Linked DNA regions of Homo sapiens: region 1 is linked to region 2. Evidence: promoter capture Hi-C in 16 types of primary human blood cells and fetal thymus (Javierre and others, 2016). All regions are on one chromosome and are shown on one strand. Each heading gives the region's core, a stretch centred on a gene start or on the middle of the fragment in contact. The rest is flanking DNA. Distances are from core to core; before and after follow the strand shown.

Region 1 (2,914 bases), core at 361-2,860, 3.8 Mb after region 2:
TGCAATGCAAATGCTTGAAAATATCCTCTCATTTGTTCTAAGGGCAGGCTGGGCTGTGATCCCAGGGTGTGCTCACTTTGCAGAGCCCCATTCTAAGGGAGCAGTCAGCAAGCTCTTCTGTAAAGGTCCAGGTAGTAAATATTCTAGGCTTTGTAGAGCACATGGTCTGTCACAACTATGTCATCAACTCTGCCCATGCAAGAGCAGCCACATAAACATCTTAACAAATGAGCACCACGGCTGTGTTCCAGTAATATTTATTTATGGACACTGAAGTCTGAGTTTCACATAATTTTCACGTCACAAGATATTATTAACTTCTTGCGAAAAAGGATTCTCCCGGCTGAGCTAAAACAGGTCACATCCAGGGGTAAGAAATGCTAGTTCCCATCCAGCCCTTAGTCTTAGAAAAAGGCTCTACGCAGGCTGGGCGCGGTAGCTCACGCCTGTAATCCCAGCACTTTGGGAAGCCGAGGCGGGCGGATCACATGAGGTCAGGAGTTCGAGACCAGCCTGACCAACATGGAGAAACCCCGTCTCTACTAAAAATACAAAAATTAGCCGGGCGCGGTAGCGGGCGCCTGTAATCCCAGCTACTTGGGAGGCTGAGGCAGGGGAATCGCTTGAACCCGGGAGGCGGAGGTTGCAGTGAGCCGAGATCGTGCCACTGCATTCCAGCCTGGGCGACAGAGTGAGACTCTGTCTCAGAAAAAAAAAAAAGAAAGAAAAAGAAAAAGGCTCTACTCCAAACTCTTGCAGTGTTACTTTTATAATTTAGAACTACAAATAAATGAAGGGGTAGAAAATCAGTTTGTTGCTCTCCCTCCCCGATGGACTGGGGGACTTCAAGAATCTTGAGGACCAGATTTAGGATACAAGCCCTAAACCCTCATCTTACAAATCAAAAACACTGTGACACTGGGGCCCAAAACAAGAAAATGACTTAGCCAAGGTAAGTGGCCGAGCTGGTACAGGAATTCGGGTCCACTCCCTCTCAGCTCTGAGGATTCCTTATTCTCAAAGGTAGCTTCTGTTAAAGTCGGAACATGAGGAGTGAAGGGCTCAATATTCCTGCCAAGGAGGTAGGTGAACAAGTTACCCCTTAGCACCGGAATAATTATAGACCCCGACTTCAGGCTGTGCCTAGGTCCGGCTCAGGTGTCCAAAGAACCGTTCCAGGCACCCGAGGGGTGATCCCTGACTCCTCTGCTGGGTGCTCGTGCCAGCTAACAATGGGTGAAAATTGGGGTGAGGAGCTCCAGGTGCTTTCTGCGTCCTCTGAAGAGCTTTCGTGCCTTTATAACCACCGCGTTGGAAGGAAGAGCGCGGAGAAAGGTGCCCACTTTCTAAAAGAGAAAATTGAGGCCGAGCAAGGGGATCGCGACAGTGCGAAGCGAGATAGCAGCGGAACCAGCATTCGAACCCAGGTCCCTGAACTCCCAGCCCCGGGATCCTTCTCACCCCTAACCACAGTGGGACGAAGTGAGGCCGGGATCTCCGGAACCCGCCTCTCGCTACCAGGCGCCGGAGCTGCCGCTCCCGAGGTTCCTAGGAGATGCAGAAGACACTGCCCTGAATGCCTACAGCCGGCTGGCAATGCCGCCCCAGAGCAGAGCGGCGGGTGCCGCCTCGCCTTCTTATAGGCTCGCAGCACTTCCAGTCGCGCGCGAGGCCTCCTGGGAAGTGAAGTCCGGAGACCAGGGGTGGCCGGCTCCCAGCGCGCCAAGCTGCTAACCCCCTAACTCCCGTTCCTCCTCGGCGTTTCTTCTCCAAGTCCGAAGTCAGGGTCCAGGACTGCTGCGATGCATCAGCCCCGCCTCTCATCCCCCATCCAGAGGAGGCGGAAATGTTCAGGTGAACGCGAAGCCTCCCACTACGAGCCGGCCCTCAGCAAGGCCGTGCGCAGTGTGGGCGGGAGCCCTAAGTCAGCTAGCGGCGACGCTGGGAGGGCCCGGAGCAGGCCGGGCCCCGAACAGCGAAAGCTCCAACATGGCGGCCAGACTGGCCATAGAGCGGGAAGAGAAAGCCGGGGACTAGCAGGCCGCACGGCGCAGACGGGGCCCGCCTCCTCCATTTACTTCCGGAATTTAAAGCCGGCTTCCGGAAGCCGGGACGATGTCCGCATGACAACCGACGTTGGAGTTTGGAGGTGAGAGTGATTGACGAGGAGTGGGTTAAGTGACCAGAAGTCAGAATTTTTGGTGCTGTTGTTTTGGGCTTGGGTTTTATGCTTTGTTGTTGTTTGCCAAGGAAGCCTCGTTTTTAAGTGGATTGGGAAGCGTGAGGAATACTGCCCTAGGTACAAAGGGAAGGCGGCAGGTAGCGGTGGACGAATTAAAGAGCTTCATGAGCTTGTGAGTCTCCACTGCCCTAAACTGGAGGGGATCGTCGTACGTAGAGACAGGCATGGGCGTTTCTGCATAACGGATCCTCAAAACAGCCCTGGATGGTGGCCTATGAGTAGTGGTTAAGAGCACGGGTTTGGCGTCACAGTTATGAAGCCGGGTTCTGCTGACTTGAGACCTGGAGGAATGCCTTGAGCTCTGACTTCTGTGTCCTTTCCTGTAGAATAGGAATAATTCCCACCTTGCAGACTTGTAGGGAGGATTAAAGGAAACGATCTTGGTTGACAAGTTTATCGTGGTGTGAGTACCTAGGTAGTAGCTATCAGTGTTATTTAATGCGGCCGGGCGCAGTGGCTCACGCCTGTAATCCCAGCACTTTGGGAGGCCGAGGCGGGAGGATCACGAGGTCAGGAGATCGAGACCATCCTGGCTAACATGGTGAAACCCCGTCTCTACTAAAAATACAAAAAATTAGCCAGGCGTGGTGGCACGCACCTGTAGTCCCAGCTACTTGGGAGGCTGAGGCAGGAGAATCGCTTGAACCCGAGAGGCGGAGGTTGCAGTGAGCC
Region 2 (3,330 bases), core at 223-2,722:
TGGGTTATGAAGCCAGGTCATCTGACCTCACAGTCTACACTTAAAAATCCTTCTAATTTATAGCCTTCAGGATAAACCAACCAATCAAGAGAGCTTAAGCCAATAAAAATAGCAGACATTTCACTAAGTGTTGGGCTTGAGGCTAAGGGCTTTCATATATTTTTAGATTTAATATTTATGATGTCCTATGAGGTAGGTATCATTATGTCTTCTTCATAATGAGGAAACCAATTGTCAAACAGTGCAAGTAACATGTCCAATTATACTGCTGGTGATTGGTGGAGCCAGGATTTGTTCCCAAATTTGCCAAATGGTTATGAGCACTAGTTGCAGAATCAGACTGAGGTGCTAGTTCTGGCATTGTTACTGACCAGCTGCCGACCCTAAGGAAGTTACTTAACCTCTAGAATCATCAATTTCCTCATTTTAAGACGGGACTAATAAAATTAACCCACTGGATTATTTTGAAGATTAACAAGTGCCTGACACAGAATAAAGGGTTTTAAAATGTTAACTACTAAATGGGCTGGCTATGTGCTATTTGTCAAGAGGCAAATACTCAGCTTTTCTTGGAACCTAACCAGAGCCTGGATTGGAGTTTCTCTTCCTGCTTGGCTCCTGCATTGCCAGTTCCATCCCCATCTAAATGCCCAACTCATTCTAGTGACCCTTTACTGCATCTACATTAGGATCAACCTTGAAGGTGGGTGTGGGGAGGGTAAGCATGGGCCTCAGGCTCCCCTACATTCAGGAAGGAATTTGTCATAAGTCATTCACCTTCGATAAGGGTGACCAAGACTTATTTTCCAAGACAGGGTAGCACATAGTTCTCTTTACCTGTTGTACATATCGGCCATCATCTCCACCTCCAGCTCCGCAGCCAGCTGTTGGGCCCTGAGAGGATCCATCTCAGCCTAGCACCGTGGAAGGGATCTCCTTCTGGCCTCCTAATCCTGGGAGCAGACATCACCATCAGCACCCACCGCCGCCGTTCACTCTCCTACCCCTGGGGCTAGAGGATACAGAGGACTCACAGGGCGCCAGACCACCACGGGCCACTAACCTCAGTGAGCTTAACCACCCCATTTCACGGATGTGGAAACTGAGGCCTAGCCCAAGGTCGCACAGGACGTCTATGGCGAGCCTGGAAATCGAGCCCCGGATCTCTGATGCCCCAGTTCCTGGAGGTCACCTCTATTCAGGAGATCGAGGACCGGAGGAGAACTCTCTAACCCACGAACCTGAACCTCCAGGGCCCTGGGAATGGGATCATACGCTGAACAGAGGCGACCGGGACCCAGCCCAAAGGCTACACCTCTGAAATGGCGACGCCATCATCAGGGCCACATTGAATTCAGAGGTCATGTGTCACTTACCACTGCCTGGGACGGATCACAATGCCCACGGAGACCCCAACTTCTGACAAATACTATAACGTTACCCGCCTCCCGAGAGGCTCCAGCGGAAGCACGTGGGTTACTTCCGGGAGGAAAGTCCCGCCTCTTCTTTGATTCAAACTCGCTTCCGGAATTAAATACCAACGAGACGGCGCCGGGAACTCGGCGATCATAGAGAGGGAGCGGCTGGCGCCGGGCGAAGAGGAAGGCGACTTGCCAGTGCTAGAGAGGACACCAAAGTACCATAGAAGCTTGGGCGGGGTGCAGAGCGTCTGCAGCCCGATCAGAATTCAAGTCCTTTGGGATGTCACCGAGCGGCTTCAGTTTATTGGTTCTGTAGGAAGAGGCGTGGCGACAGACACCTGTGAACCTCACCCCCGTTCCAGACAGCCGACTCCTGTGCGCAAATCAGGCGTGGAGAAGGAAGAACGCCCCCAAACAGCGGTTCTGTTTTTGTTTCGCGTTAAAATCACCTGGAACGTTTTTAAACATCCCAGTGCCCAGGACTCACCTCATTTCAATTAAATCAGAATCTCTGGGAGTACAGTTTAAAATTCCTCAGGCAGCAATACAATTTAAAATTCCCCAGGTGATTCGTATGTACAGCCAAATTTGAGAAGCAGTGCTCCACGGGACGTTGTGCGATTACTGCTGTGTGTAGGTCACACTAAGCCCCGTCTGGGGTTGCAAAGATAAGCGAGATAGGCTTCCTGTTCGCAGAAAGACAAGACGTGTAAAATATGTTTTCTTCAACAGTTAGAGGTCCTCAGCCACAAAGAGATAATAAAAGCAATTTCGGCTGCCACCAGGGCTAATCTTGGGTGAGGGAAAGAAGGGTACTGGTGAACTTTCCAACTTTCAAGACTTAATGTGTTCTTCAAACTGCACCATTCACTCATTCCCCACTAAAAAGAAGGAAACAAGGAAACAATACTCAGTCCCTTGATTTGTCACACAATTTCCTGGTAAAATAAATTTACAAGATGTAAATTAATGACGCAAGGGCACATTGCCCATTGGAAAAGGTGGGCTAGACATTTTCTGTGTGGTCATCATAAGCTTCCCTAATTGTCCAAGACCATCCTAATTTTAAACAATTGACCTTTCTACTGCTTTGAAGACTCATCTTTGCCAAACTTGTGCCCTGATTTTTAAAGATTGGGGTATAACATTCATAAAGTGCATAAAATACACGAATGTTAAGCTTAATTAAATATATATGTATCTATATATGTACATTTGTATAACCGCCATCCAGATCAAGATATAAAATACTTCCTGCACCCCAAAAAGTTATCTTGTGTTCCTTCCCCATCAATACCCCCTCTCGAAGTTAACCACTATTCTGACCTCTATCACCATCAATTAGTTTTCCTTGTTCTTGAACTTCGTGTAAATGGAATTATACATTATTTTCTATTTTGTGCCTGACTTCTTTAGCTCAATGTACCTGTAAGATTTCCTCCATATTGTTGTGTGCATCTGTTATTCCTTCTGTTTTATTGCTGTCTAGTGTTTGATTGTATGAGTATGCCACAATTCATCTATCCATTCTCCCGTTGGTGGATGTTTGGATTGTTTCCAGTTTTTGCCTATTATGCAATAATGCTGCTATGATACTCTTGTACAGATGGACATATCTTGCCTTGGTTTTTGCCTTTGAAAATATAGTCAACATTGGCCGGGTGCAGTGGCTCACGCCTGTAATCCCAGCACTTTGGGAGGCTGAGGTGGGTGGATCACCTGAGGTCAGGAGTTCGAGACCAGCCTGGCCAACTTGGTGAAACCCCATCTCTACTAAAAATACAAAAAAGTAGCCCGGTGTGGTGACGGGTGCTTGTAATCCCAGCTACTCAAGAGGCTAAGCAGGAGGCTAAGGCAGGAGAAACACTTGAACCCGGGAGGCAGAGGTTGCAGTGAGCCAAGATCGCAC

What was found. The method cuts DNA at HindIII sites, captures the fragments that hold promoters and counts their contacts. A CHiCAGO score of 5 or more calls a contact.
Region 1: a contact is called between the fragment with the promoter of CYB561A3 here and the fragment with the promoter of TIMM10 in region 2, in 1 of 17 cell types (erythroblasts). The highest score is 5.6, in erythroblasts.

What each region holds. Positions count from the first base shown.
Region 1 is chr11:61,360,272-61,363,185 of GRCh38, forward strand. It overlaps CYB561A3 (cytochrome b561 family member A3), which reads right to left and starts at 1,611. Exons shown (of 7, transcript NM_153611.6): 1 at 1,462-1,611. TMEM138 (transmembrane protein 138) reads left to right here and starts at 2,103. Exons shown (of 5, transcript NM_016464.5): 1 at 2,103-2,149. RefSeq lists enhancers at 1,162-1,381, 1,500-2,221, 1,632-2,121. The HindIII fragment of the contact is 4,335 bases long and covers 1-2,914 here.
Region 2 is chr11:57,529,282-57,532,611 of GRCh38, forward strand. It overlaps TIMM10 (translocase of inner mitochondrial membrane 10), which reads right to left and starts at 1,473. Exons shown (of 3, transcript NM_012456.3): 1 at 1,377-1,473; 2 at 838-953. The coding sequence starts at 908. RefSeq lists an enhancer at 1,473-1,652. The HindIII fragment of the contact is 3,024 bases long and covers 1-1,646 here.